Linked DNA regions of Homo sapiens: regions 1, 3, 4 and 5 are each linked to region 2. Evidence: promoter capture Hi-C in 16 types of primary human blood cells and fetal thymus (Javierre and others, 2016). All regions are on one chromosome and are shown on one strand. Each heading gives the region's core, a stretch centred on a gene start or on the middle of the fragment in contact. The rest is flanking DNA. Distances are from core to core; before and after follow the strand shown.

Evidence for each region. The method cuts DNA at HindIII sites, captures the fragments that hold promoters and counts their contacts. A CHiCAGO score of 5 or more calls a contact.
Region 1: a contact is called between a fragment that was not itself captured here and the fragment with the promoter of NRIP1 in region 2, in 1 of 17 cell types (fetal thymus). The highest score is 5.1, in fetal thymus.
Region 3: a contact is called between a fragment that was not itself captured here and the fragment with the promoter of NRIP1 in region 2, in 1 of 17 cell types (erythroblasts). The highest score is 6.7, in erythroblasts.
Region 4: a fragment that was not itself captured here is called in contact with the fragment with the promoter of NRIP1 in region 2 in 5 of 17 cell types (naive CD8 T cells, naive CD4 T cells, total CD4 T cells and 2 more); the score reaches 7.1 in naive CD8 T cells.
Region 5: a fragment that was not itself captured here is called in contact with the fragment with the promoter of NRIP1 in region 2 in 1 of 17 cell types (erythroblasts); the score reaches 5.3 in erythroblasts.

What each region holds. Positions count from the first base shown.
Region 1 is chr21:14,536,374-14,539,073 of GRCh38, reverse strand. The region is part of intron 1 of SAMSN1 (SAM domain, SH3 domain and nuclear localization signals 1); the gene reads left to right. It overlaps LOC124905053 (a long non-coding RNA gene), which reads right to left. Exons shown (of 3, transcript XR_007067925.1): 2 at 1,154-1,228; 3 at 546-658. Among named protein-coding and RNA genes, the nearest start is that of SAMSN1, 8.6 kb to the left of the region's middle. The HindIII fragment of the contact is 2,777 bases long and covers 1-2,697 here.
Region 2 is chr21:15,063,702-15,066,401 of GRCh38, reverse strand. It overlaps NRIP1 (nuclear receptor interacting protein 1), which reads left to right and starts at 1,402. Exons shown (of 4, transcript NM_003489.4): 1 at 1,402-1,657. RefSeq lists an enhancer at 501-550 and silencers at 881-1,060, 1,311-2,170. The HindIII fragment of the contact is 10,218 bases long and covers 1-2,700 here.
Region 3 is chr21:14,456,811-14,459,510 of GRCh38, reverse strand. No RefSeq gene overlaps it. Among named protein-coding and RNA genes, the nearest start is that of HSPA13, 75 kb to the right of the region's middle. The HindIII fragment of the contact is 1,227 bases long and covers 757-1,983 here.
Region 4 is chr21:15,586,109-15,588,884 of GRCh38, reverse strand. The region is part of intron 1 of LOC105369302 (a long non-coding RNA gene); the gene reads left to right. Among named protein-coding and RNA genes, the nearest start is that of USP25, 140 kb to the left of the region's middle. The HindIII fragment of the contact is 2,851 bases long and covers 1-2,706 here.
Region 5 is chr21:14,518,256-14,521,047 of GRCh38, reverse strand. The region is part of intron 2 of SAMSN1 (SAM domain, SH3 domain and nuclear localization signals 1); the gene reads left to right. The region is part of intron 1 of LOC124905053 (a long non-coding RNA gene); the gene reads right to left. Among named protein-coding and RNA genes, the nearest start is that of SAMSN1, 27 kb to the left of the region's middle. The HindIII fragment of the contact is 1,209 bases long and covers 876-2,084 here.

The DNA of each region.
Region 1 (2,700 bases), core at 60-2,559, 530 kb after region 2:
GAATATGGAAGAAATTTTGAAAATAGAAAGACATGGATCCCACAAATTAAAGTTAGTGACTGTAATTAGAACATCTTGGCCTTTACTTGAGAGGGATTAATGATCCGTGTTAATAAATTTTAGCAGGTTTTTCTTTGAGTAAAGGAGATTCAAGTACCATTGTTATTTTTGAGGGAAACGTTAGAATAATGACAGTTCTGGAAATAGCCTTTTTTTTAACCATTCTTTTTAATCTAAAGTGCATACTAAATGAGACACCATTAGTGTCACAGATGCTAATTTTCACTAGCAATGACTGAAGTGGCATTCTTTCCCATTTGCATTTGATCCTAGCAATGATGAGAGGTGATGAGTTGATTATGAGCTGTTTTCACTGCACTGCCTGCTGTGCAAATTTATGCTCCTAGACAAGGATGACACATAGTTGTACCATTAAAGAGCTTTCTTCACTGTTTTTTTGTATCAAGACTGCTAGGATACATTTTTAACTCTTATCTAACCAGGTATAAGAAAGAGAATAAGTATTTATATGCACTGGTGCTTACTTGAGGCCAGGTACTTGTCCAAGGTGCTCATGTCCATTATTATGTTTAATCTTCTCAAAACCCCAGGAGGTAGACATTATTTTTATCTCCAATTTACAAAGAAGAAAAAAGCCCTGTAGATGCAAAAATTTTCCACAAGTTAAAAGATTTGGGATTTATGGCACAGTTTTTCTGCTTCTAAGCCTGTGTCTCTCTCCTCCTACTCTCTATTACTTCTTCATCTGGGGTACAATTTTTGTTGAATGTTTGCCTTTTCAAACAGAGTTTTCTGGAATAAAATACATGATATAAAATGTAGGTAATATGTTAGATTTACTCTTTTCCCCTTTAAAAAACGGTGGCTATAAGTAAATATTTATTTTAACTTCTAGTTATTACCTCCGTCCGCTCCAAAAACAAAACAAAACAAAAAACCAGATATCTCAAAAGGTTGTCTTCATTTTTGTGTTTATGTAGCATTTATAGCATTTTAAAAAGTATTTTTGATAAACTATAATGCAAACATAAAACCAAATAAGACAAGTCAGGAGAAAATGAAGTCTAGAACATGTTAAAATGTATCTCAAGGTTCATCAAGGCTGACTTGAATCTAAGAACTTGCTACTCACTGTGGTCCTATAGAGCAACAGCACGGGCATTCCAGGAGCTTGTTAGCCATGTGCATTTTCCAGTCTCCCCCAGGCCTACGAAATGAAAACATACATTTTAACAAGATACTCAGCAGTTCTGTGAGCACTTTATAATTTGGAAATGATGCTCTAGGTTGATGGTTTTTGGAGCCTAGGCCGAATATTTGAATCACTAAAGAGCTTTAAAAAAAAAACTGATGATTGGGTTCCATCCCCAAATATTCTTATTTACCTAATATAAAATGTGACTGGACATCAAGAATTTTTAAAGTTTTCCAACCTGGCAGCACTTTTTTCTACTTTTCAAAAGACTTAAAAGTTAATTCACTAATCCATGCATTCGTTCATTCATTTATCCTTCAACGCAACAAATGTCTATTAAATGCTTATTATGGACAATACACTGGCGATACCAAGGTGAACAAAAGATACCATATTTGCTGGAGATGACAGACAATAAATAGGATAAATAAGTAATATATACAGTATGCTAGATAATGATAGGTGCCAAGAAGAAAAAAAAATTAACAGAAAAGAAGGATTTGAAATATGAAGAACTAGAGAAGCCTTGGTGAGAATGGGACATTGGAAAAAGGACTGGAAGAAAGTGAAGGAGCTGGTCTTGGGATTGGTGAAGGAAACTGTACTCTGGGCAGAGGGAAGAGCAAGTGCAAAGGCCTTGAAATGGGACTGTCTCTGGTGTGTTTGAGAAGCAGTGGGGCAGAGTGCATAGCGGGAAGAGCCGCCGCAAAGAGCTGGATCACTGAAGGCGTTCTAGGCCATTAAAATAATTTTAGCTAGTGTTGAAAGATGTTTGAGAAGTGACAGAATCTGGCCTACAGTTTAGTGGGTTTATTTTGGCTTTTGTGTTTCAAATATACTGAAGGGAGTGAGACCAGTTAACAGACTATTGCAGAAACCAGGCAAGGGATAACTGTGGTTCAGACAAAGGAACGGCCCAGTTGACTTTGGTGTTGAGAAGACTCTAAATTTGGGATATATTTGTACTTACTTTATCCATTTGGATGTTTATAGGTAACTTACTACATGCTGTCTAAAGATGGCAGACAGAAAGTTTCCACTGTCCGGTCCCATTCTTGCTTCCAGTTGGTGCTTGCATGCCAAGGAGAAATGGCCTCATTCCATTGTTTACAGTCACCAGAAATTCACCCCTAAATTGATGTCTCACTTTGCAAAGGCTTCTTCTTCTTCTTTCTTAAACATATAATTTTCCATTGGATTTTATTTTAATTCGTAGTGCACCTTTTAAATAATTTTTAGCCTTGACCACTTCTCTCCAAACAAAGCACTAATACATTTTAGCTTTTCCGTTTTACAGAATATGAATCTGTAATCAAGTTTTATCCCAAGCAGGTAGCAAAATGTTTGGGGCCAAATGTATTAGCTATACTTGAAAAGTGTTCAGATAATATTCAGAAAGATCAGATGAATAGCTAGAGAAATGACAGAAGTGTAGCCTCCCCTTTGTTTGGAAATTTGGATATTGTATTTTATAGGAAGCTTTA
Region 2 (2,700 bases), core at 153-2,652:
TATAAGAATGGAGTGCCTCATCGGCTCATTTGTCTTATGTAATAAGTGTTTTAACACGGGCATGCCGTTTCAGAATTTCGGGTGAGACTAAGCTGTACTTTAGCTTTTTTGTGTCAAGCAAAAACAATTTCAGCAACAACACTCGCTTCCCCTGGTAATTTTTTTCATGGCGAATTACTAAATGCTAGATGCTCAAGTCAAAAAGAAACCTGACATCTGGGGAGGTGTTGAGGGGGTGTTAATAGTTCTAGTGAGATGTCTGGGGAGCGTTGAGGATACGATTTTTCAAACAGCAAATACAAGGATAAGGGGAAATTATGGTTTCGTATGACTCTCTCCTCCTTCCACTTTCTCGTTTCACCAATCTGTGGCCCCCCCAATTTAGAGGCGGGTTCAGTGAGATTAGGCTGCAGGAAACCGAGAGGCTCCACCGCGCTGCCGCCCCGGCCTCGTGATGTAATTGTTATTTCTTATTCGGAGACCGAACCGAGGAGAGCTGCTGAAGAAGTAGCAGCCCTGCTCCTTTTCCCTTGTCTTGTTGGGTCAGATCCTTCCCGGGGATGATGCAGATTGGCTGACAGACTCCGCTGGAGACTTCGCAGTGACAAAGCAGCCGAGGATTAACCCTGCTCCTGGGTCCTACGTCTGTCCAGGGAGCTGAGCGGGGCGCTCCTCAGGTCTCCTTCCTAGTTTTCCTCCCAGAGTCGCTCCACACGAGTGCTGGGCGCCTACTACGTGCTGGGCGTGGGGTCAAAGTGACCCAGAGTTCGCGCCCGTGCCCCCCAACATTAAAGCAGGACACACAGATTACAAGGAGATAGAAATTGGGGGTGGGTGGGTGAAAGGGGGCCCAGAGAGCGCGTGTTGTGGGGTGAAGGGGAGGAGGTAGACGCTTAAGGCAGGCGGGGACCCTGGAGCGTCTGGGGCGCCCCGGCCCCCAGGCTGTGCCCAAACGGGAGCATTCGGCCTGGGTCCCAAGAGCGCTTTCCCCGGTCCCCAGGAGGAGCTGTCCAGGCGCCTGCAGCGGTCGCGGGCGGCTGGACAGAGCTGGGAGCCCGGGGGACGGCCCGGGCGCGCCGTGCAGCCCCTCTCTCGGGGACGCGGTCCTCTCGCTGCCTCCGGGTCTTGCAGCCCCGTCTGGGACACCCGGAGAGCAGGCGAGAAGGAAATCCACGAAACAGAGGGGGTTCCGCAGCTCCTGTGAGCCGCCCGGATCCGCGCGGCTTCCTCCTGACCGGGTGACAATGGGAGGGAGGGGGAGAAAAGGGTTAAGAAACTTGGCTGAAGAGCTGAATGGCGTGGGGCGGCGAGGGGAGGGACTGGGCCGCGGCGGACTCGGCGGCGGAGGGAGGAGCGCGGCTGCGGGCGGGCGGTGAGCGAGGCGCTCAAAGTCAGCCTCGCAGACATTGCAGCAGAGCCCCGAACTCGGGAGGCGGCGGCGGAGGAGGCGGCGGCGAGGCGCAGGGACGACCCGGCCCCACGCCCGCCCGCCACCCGCGCGCGCCCGTCCGCCCGTGGCCTCGCGTCCGCCGCTGCGCCGTGAGCGCCGCTGGTCGGAGGGAAGAGCTCGCCGGGGCGCCGGGCCAGGACGGGGCGGCAGGCGCCTTCGCGGACCGAGCCTGACGGAGCCGGAGGCTGGGAGCCGCGGCGGCCTGGGGTGAGTGACGGCCGCGGCCAGGGCGCCAGGAGTAGCGGCCGCCGGCGCCGCCGGAAACGGCCCGGGAGCGCGGCCCGCGTCGGCTCTCGCTTGGCTGGCAGGGCCGCGGGGGCGTCGGGGCGGCGGGGAGGGCGCGTTTCCGGGGAAATCCTGCCTCTGCTGCCTGGTTCGAGTCTCCGGGTTCTCGCGGGGGGCCGGGGCGGCGGGCCGGCAAGTTGTGGAGTGGCCCCGGGTCGGCCCGCCCGTCCGTGCCAGTTCTGGGCAAGGGGGCGGCCGTCGCGTGGCCCCTGAGCGGGGCCGGACTCGGGGGGCCGGGTCGGGGTTGCCCCCGCTCGCTTGCCCTCTCGGTCCCGAACCCCGGGCACCGCTCGCCTCGCCGCTCTCCGTCCTGCTGTCCAGCCGGATCCTGGGCGGCGCCTTTCGCCTGGGTGCCTCCCTGCTCCTTGCTCGCTGGATACCCGGCTGGGAAAGTGAATAGGAAAAGGGACAGCTCGCCCGGCCCCCACCCGACCCCGGGCCGCTCTGCCCGCACTCGCGGTCCCCTCCCGATGGCGAGGCTCACGGACCCGAGGCCTCAGCCATCATTTTACCAGGAGCCAGGGGCCGGCCCCCATTTAGGGTGAGCCCGGTGGAAGTCCGGGAGGCTGCCTTTTCTCCCTTCTTCTGTGTCCACCTTATTACGATTGAATATTGTTTTATGAAGGTTTCCGTGGATGTATTCTGCAGACCCTCCCATCCCTTCCAAAGTAGTTTCCCAATTTTGATCAGGAGTTGGTGTTCAGTCAGAAGGAACAAAGGAACCAACTGTGTCTTAGAGGCGGACAGGCTGGGAGTCTGTGACACATGTTGATCTCTGAAGCATTCCAGGAGTTTCTACCTTTTATCACGTCAATAATTGGCTGCTGAAGGTAGTAAAAGAAGTACGGAATGATAAGCACTTTTGCGTTTTAAAAATATTTTTTAATGGCACATTTTACTTTGGGGAAAAAAGACGTTCTTAGGCACAAGGATTTTTAAAAACCCAGTTGGTGGAACTGAGTTGG
Region 3 (2,700 bases), core at 121-2,620, 610 kb after region 2:
GCAGCAGTTTGTCATTTTTATTGCTATATAGTATTAATATGCTGTGTATGCTAATGTATGGGTATTTATAATTTGCTTATTCATTTTTCTGTTGATGGACATTTGGTTCTTTCCAGTTTCAGGCTTCTGAAAAACAATACTGCTATGAACATTCTCTTAAGTGTTTTTTGGTGCACTTATATATGCATTTCTATAGGATATAAACTCAGAAGTTAAATTTCTGGATTTGTGTGTGCTCAGATTTAGTAGACAATGCCAGTTTTCCTAATGGTTTTTACCAGCTTTTACTCCTACCATCTGGTAAAGAAATTCTGGTTACTCTTCATCCTTGCCAACACTTGGTGATATCAGTCTCTCTCATTTACCCATTCTGGTGAGAGTGTAGTGGCAATTAATTACCATTTTTATTTGCATTTTTCTGAATCACATCAGTTTTATCTATCTTTCTTGAATAGAATTCTAATTTTCTAGTAGAACTTCTCCTTATAATCGTGGAGAATAAGCCCATCTCTTTTTTCTTGGGTGAGAGATTTTAGCAGTTATAGATCGCATATGACTATGCACATCTGTTGTCATATTCAGTAGATTTTCTATTGGAAGATTGTCTCTGCAAGTTTATATATATAATATAAAATAAATAATATATATAAAACTGGAGAAAAATTGAAATAAAATTTCAAGAAGTCTGTAATAATAAGAAAAAACACATAGAGGTTCTCATTCATGATGGCTTACCGAACACTCTTGAGTTAAGCTTCCTTCCCTGCTTCCTCAAATCCCTTTTCTAATGACACAGTAAGTAAAATGATAAAAAGTAAACTCATAAAAGCACTTGAAAGTCAGGTGTTACACCACCACAAACCAGAAAAGCAAAGAATTCCTGGAAGATAATATGAAGCAAGTGGGAACAGACTGACAATGAAATCTAACATAGCTGCAGAACTATAAGTCCTTTACAAACAAAGAAGAGCTCAAAATAAATGATTTTTTTTTAAGCACCAAATCACACAAAGAACAAAAGGCACAGGGTCTGGGAGATGGAACAGGCCACAAGGAGCTGTTCAGGTAATTAATTAAAGAATGATAATAACTGTACTATGAATCATCTCCACCCTCAAATTAGTGAATCTCACATTTGTACCCAAGGTCAATGTTTCAAGTTTAGGGTTGTAGAATGAGAATTCCATGCCCAGACTGAAGTTCTGGACTGAAGACATTGAGCAATACCTCAAGAGCATGCTACACACTATAAAGGAAAGTAACCTGACTATTCAATCCCCTCTTCAAATGGGAAGTGGGTAAAAGAAGAGGAATGGATATTGTGAGCCCATTTTAAAAAGTAGGGCCTTTGCAAGACCTAAGACTTGTAGAGAAAATAAAGTATTAAAATTCCTTATGGGCTTTCTCCATTGGTGATAGGACCTGTCCATATGCGTAGAGTGACTACATAATTTCTTGTCCAAATCATAACACTTCTGAGCATGACTAAAGACACTGTCAACAAATGTGCTTGGGTAAAAGACTTAAACGAAGACTCCTGAAGTGGTCGTGGGCATGTGGTCATGTCTACCTATGCCACCAACCTTCCACAGAAATGGGTGGAGATACAGCAGTCATATTTCTCATGTTTGATGACTGGGTCAACTATGCTTGCTTGCTGATCAGCCAGACAGTATGAAGATTCTAATTTTTTTAAAAAAGAAAGAAAAGTAAGAAGACAACTTTTTCTGATTATCAGAGAGAATTGAAATGGATTTTGGTACTAGGTTATCTTAAATAATTACTGATGTTGTTTTACAATTAGGTTTTTTAAGTCTTTACCTGTTACATTAATGTGAGCATTACCTATAAATTAAATTATGTGTGTCTAGGATTTGTTTTAAAACATTCTAGTGGGAAGTTGGAATAGGAGGAGAAGAGGGGTTGATTAATACATTGACAATATATTGGTGCTTGTTGAAGCTAAGTGAGTACATAGAAGCTTATTATTATTATTATCTCTGTACTTTTTACATGCTTAAAAATTTTGTACATGCTTGAAAATTTTCATAATACAATTTTAAGTGTCAATATAAGGGGTTTTCCAACTTAGAAAAACAGCATAGGGAAAAAAACAATAATCACAACATTTGGGAAGGCAGAATAAGTAAGAAATAATTTGGAGACCCCAGGAAGCTAAATCCTAAGCTAGCAGTAAGTAGATTTGAAAAAAAAATTATTCAATTTGCTTCATACACTCTCAAAAATCTCATGAATCTAGGGGAGACCATTAACATGTAGAAGTACAAGGGAATGTGAACTAGGAATAAGAGGACTTATTGAAAGCCTGTATGAGAGGCAATAAGACTTCAAGATTTCCCCTTCTATGCTGCTCAGCCAAAGATCTGTGCCACTTTCACACTGGCAGAATACCAGAGATTTAGAATGTGGAATGTAGTGCAGAGCGATTCAGAATTAAGAGATACCAATACCAGAACTTTGAACCAAGTATTCTGTACTGAAAACATGGGAACTAAGTAAAAGTCTATACATTTATATTGAAATCCCCAGTCCTATTTTTTCCTCCTAGCTCTAGGGATGCTGGTAGACAGATTTATACCATCCATGCATGAGAGAATTTTTATCGAAGAATCTGAGCTATTTACAAGAAAAAGATCTAAACCTATTGATTTAGGATCCCCTATGAGATCACCTAATAAG
Region 4 (2,776 bases), core at 32-2,531, 520 kb before region 2:
ATACAGAAATCAGCCAGGCATGGTGGCAGGCACCCATAGCCCCAGCTATTGAGGAGGCTGAGAAGTGAGAGGATTGCTTGAGCCCAGGAGGTCACAGCGGCAGTGAGCCATGATTGTGTCATGGCAACTCAGCCTGAGTGACAGTGTGAGACCCTATCTCAAAAATAATAAAATAAAATAAAATTAAAAAGTGTGGGCAATGTCCCTAATTTGCAGTTTATGGATTAAATGTTAATTTAAAGAATACTTACAACATATACCTATTCTCTTAGAGATTCCATTATAACTCAAACTAAAATATTCTATGTAACTAGATGGTTAACCTCAGTGAAAGATAAGGAACATAAGGCTAAGAGCAGTTAAATCATCAGGCAGAGGTAACACAGCTGGTCAGGTGAATGGAGCCCAGAACATCTAATTCCTCAACTGGCACGTTGTTTTTCACTATGCCAAGTTGTTCTTGCTAGGAATTCTTTGGATGCTGGTTCACCTGGGAGATTGAAGGGATGAGCCAGATTGCTCTCATACCTTGGAGTTCCAGGTGGAGATGGGGAAGGAGGGGGAAGAATCCCTAATTTGAGCAAGTTTTATAAAGAGGATACCATTTGACGCCACTGTGTGTTGAATAAACATGGAGATAGACCTGGTCCAATGGAAAGATTATGAATGTTTCCTTGATGGTTACTTGATCACTTGACTCTTAGTTTTCCTAAGAATAAATAGGAAAAAAAACATAAGCCTTGGGAAGTTGTTTAAGGGAAAATTGGGTAGACTATGTAAAGCATCTAGCAGAGTGATTTACTCACATTTGATGTTTAGTTAACATAAAAACTACTTTACCAGGCTTCTAAGGCAATTAACCATTTAAACCAAATTTGAATTAAAGCTAGGCATGGGGTAAGAAAGCAAGAAGTAAGAGAGACTTGGAGTCTGGTGTACTCTAATTAAGTTAAATGTGCAAAGGAGAAAAAGTGTTAATCTTTTCCTTACCTGTTTCAATGTTCCCAGCTAAGGCACCTGTAACAAAAGATAGATTAACAAGAGAAAAACAAATCTATTTAATATAAGTTTTGCCTGACATGGGAGCCTTCAGAAATGAAGACCCACCGGATACAGTGGCTCACGTCTGTAATCCCAGCACTTTGGGAGGCAGAGGCAGGTTGATCACTTGAGGTCAGAAGTTCGAGACCATCTTGGCCAACATGGTGAAACCCTGTCTCTAATAAAAATACAAAAATTAGCTGGGAGTGGTGGTGCATGCCTGTAATCCTAGCTGCTCAGGAGGTTGAGACAGGTGAATCTCTTGAACCCAGGAGGCGGAGCTTGCAGTGAGCTGAGATCGTGTCATTGCACTCCAGCCTGGGTGACAGAGCAAGACTCCTACTTGAAAAAAGAAAAAAAAAAAAAGAAAGAAACAAACAAAGTAAAATAAGAAATGAAGACCCCAAGAAACAGGGAAACTCGTATATTTTTATGCTTAGGTAGGAGGAAGAGTGGAGAGTTGTGCAGAAGTGTAATTGGACTAACAAGGTATGATCTAATGGTAACAAACCCCATCTTAGCAAGGCCTGTTTGCTCAGATTCTTCTCTGTGTCCCTCTGACTTCAGAGATAAGAACATTCTTTCCCTCCAGGTACAAGGAGGGCACCTCAGGAAACAGGATTTTATGATCTGCTTCACGGGAAAGTCAGCTGATTTTATTCTCTGCTACAGGAGAGAAGGTCAGAGAATTATTTCTACATTTTATGGCCTGCTTCAGAGGAGAAGGGGCAAGGGGAAGGTGAGAGTGACCTTCATGTTTCTACTATTTTCTCAAATGTCAAGATGCCACATCCTGGGTTAGTGTGTCCTGAACTCCATCAAATGCAAAACTTTAAAAGTTCAGGAACATACCAGTGTACTCTTTTGTTTGTTCAGGAAATACAGTGCTGTTTAATAAAGTTAACGAATCATAGGCCATCTAGTCTGTGTTTCCGAAGCATTCTCTCTCACCTTGGAGTATTTCAATCTTAGCAATTGCTAGCATCTAATAGGATCATCTGCAGAGGCACCAGAAAAGACTTCTGAGAGCAATGCTTTTAACTGAGACTTCTTTCTTGAAATTTAGATTGTTACATCTTTTTCCCCTTTGTGCTCTAGTTGCAGTCAAGACAATTTTCTTTTGTCCTGTGATGGTATTTTCTGCATACTATTGATCTGAGGCAAATAGTATCTGAGAAAAGAGAGTTTTCTTAGGCTATCGTGCCTTTCATCAAACAAGATAAATCATCAAATGAGCAAATTTGAGGTCTGTCTGGTTGTTATTCTTCACACAGTTTTGCCATGTGGATAGACATTGAGAGAACATGTACTCCACTGGTCTTTAGAGAATTAACAACAATATATTCTCGAGTAAATGTAGGCAAACTTGCCTTCCTGGTATTAGTGAGGCTCCTGGTAAACATTACTGAATAAGACACAGTCATTATCCTTAGGGAGCTCACAATTTAGCACTTGTTTATTGAACTACTGAAACAATTTATAGAACTGAGTTGTTAGTCAAGAAAATGAAAAAGGAGCTACAAACCAGTGTTCACAGAGAAGCAGATTTCCTGCTTTTAAAAAGCAATTCCATATACAAACGTTTGCTGCAATGTAATAAACAAGACTATTGGAAGAGAAAGAAGTAATTTAACTCTTTTTTTTTTCTAGTGGTCTAATCAAGCTTCCACCTAAAAAGAAAGTGTAAACTTTCACCCTTTACAGGAATTTAATTTTCGCTTAAGCTATCCGTGTT
Region 5 (2,792 bases), core at 231-2,730, 550 kb after region 2:
TTTTAAAATTATAGCCTTGCATATGTTTTTGTGATAAATGAACAAACCATTATTTAGTACTGTTGTGGAAAGCAATGGGTTCTTGTCACACGACCAGGAAAATTTAGGCACACAGACACATTGTAGGGTGAGTAGGGCAGGGTATATCGGGTGAAAAGGAAAAAAAAAAAGAGGAACTCTCAACAAAGCAAGAGTCCTGCTAGCAGGCTCCTACCTTACAGATTGAATCCCAGGCTACCACATAACAACAAAAGAGGCCAGGCTCCTCCCTGCAGCAAACCACACGACCTTCCCATAGCTCCGTCCCCTTCCCCCAGTGCACAGGTGGGCATTATTAAGAGAGAATCAGTTGGGAAAGGGTGGGCTTCATCCAGGATCATCAGTCTGGTTTTTCAGCCTTCAAGCTGTTTTAGGCTCGAAGGGGAGGTTTCGCAAGGGACCGTTGGCTGTTTCCTGTCTCTATCAGTACCCAGTACCGTGCAGGGCATTAAAAGTAAAATCTTATTTTAAGAAGCCTAACAGATGTTTGGGAAAGCAAAACATGAACCCGAAAAGATAGAATTCAAACTGACACTGACAATTCCAAATTTCCTGAGTATTTCTACTATAAAACAATGTGAGTATACATATATGTACACATACACATACATTGTATTTATACACATTATTTGATAGATATATATAAAATGTTATGTAAGTTGTAATTGCTTTAAATTAGAACAAGATTAAGTGGCCCAACTGTAAATTTGTTAAGGAGAGCATACAGCTGCTCAATTGGACTCTCACACTTCAATGTACACTGAAACATCCCATTGGTGAGTGCTACATACACATTTGTACACTATGAACATTTTAACCGTAGCTTAAGAAAAGCTTCCCATAAAATAAAGTTTACGTAATAATTTCAATAATATGTTCATTTAGTTGAGCACTCACGATGAAATAAGCACAATGCTAACTTTATCTATCTATAACAATTTACCTATTTATAACATAGGAACTATTAGTATATCTATTTTGCCATTGCAGAAATATGCTTGCTTCATCAAATAAAATTACTTCTAAATTACAGAGTGAGTAAATGACAAAGGCAGAAATCAACCTTTTCTCTGACTCCAAAGTTTGCCATATTATCTCATAAAGTAGGGGCCACATATGCTAAGTGGTTAATGACAGGTACAACAACAACTAATAAAATAGTACAGAGAAGGGGTGTCTACTAAGAAAACTGAAAATACTGTTTACCATTGAACCTGATTCAGCAACCTTACAGGTAATATATTCTTTTTAGATCAATAGGTTTTTAGATCAATAGGTTTTTAGATCCTATGCTTATTTTCAAATATAACTATCTGTAATATTTTAAAATAATTTAATTTCAGTAATGATCCCTTTTATTAATTTATTATGTATATATTCACATTTATGAGTAAACTTGTACATAATTGTATAGTCAATCAACATTTACATAATTGTAAGTAATAAATGTAATATATACATATAAATCTCCCCCTGGCCACATATATGTGTTTGTGTGTGTGTGTGTATATATATGGAGAGAGAGAGAAACTGTATATAATTTTATTTTCAGTTGGCATTTTGTATAAATTTTTAATTCTCCACAATCATACATATATTCTACTGCTATTTAGTTTATAATTCTGGAATTAACCTGTACAAGATAGCTCATGTTCATTCAGGTTCATTGGTTAATAATGGTGGCCTAGTAATTTGTAAAAGAATTTAGCAAACCTAATAAAATAGTGTGCATATTTTTCAACAATCCAGCACTCATTCAAAAAATAACTACTCTATGACAGGTTTTCCCTTAGACACTCAGGAAGTACTGTTGCAACAACACATGAAAATCCTTACTTCATGCCTGGAGTCTATAGGGGAAGACAAATCTTAAAAAGACAAGAACAAAACCATAAGTAATATTTAAATAGAAATTTAATTCAGGCTATGGAGAAAGGCATAGAAAAATGTTAACACTCAAAAGACATAAACATAATTTCTTTGTAGCTTCTGTAAATAACGCTAGAAAAACCTGAAAAATATGTGTGGTACATTTTTCTGAAGCTTAGAAATGGTAGAGTAACACAAGTAGTAATTAACATTTCTTATTTATGTTAGCAAAGTAATTTTATAATGAAGACAGAGAAAGTTTAAGTAGAGAGAAGAAAAAGGCTAACTCTAAAATTTTAAAGTGCTTCCGAATTAAATTTTATTCAGGACTTTTGAATTAAGCAAAGAATCTTTGCCTTGATTTCAACCTTGAATGTAGAAATTAATAAAGTGCAATGAGGGTTTAAATTGGCTGTCCATTCATATTTATCATAGGCAATTTGGGGTAAGATATGAAGCAAAATATAATATTGATTAATAATGATGTTAACTATGTGGTTAAACTTTTATATTAAAATATTCAAGTTCACTAAAGAGAAGTTTCCCATCATTTTTTATATTCAGTGAATGACTACCTGTCCACCTACCAGTAATGGTGGGCAGTGTTAAACTAGATGTCCTTCAAGTTTCCTTTCTTGCAAATATAAGGTATTTTAGGACGTGTAACCCAAACATGTCCTCCAAGAAAAAAAAATCTGCAACGTTCTACATGAGAAGTTTCATTTATTCAAATAATATCAAGTGCCAGCTCTGTGCTTGGAAGTACTCTAGACACTCAAAGAAAACAGACAAAGTCTCAAGTCTCATGGAGCATGCATCATAGTGGGAGACGCAGACAATAATCAAATGAACAAACATATTATCGGGTAATGTTAACTGCTTAG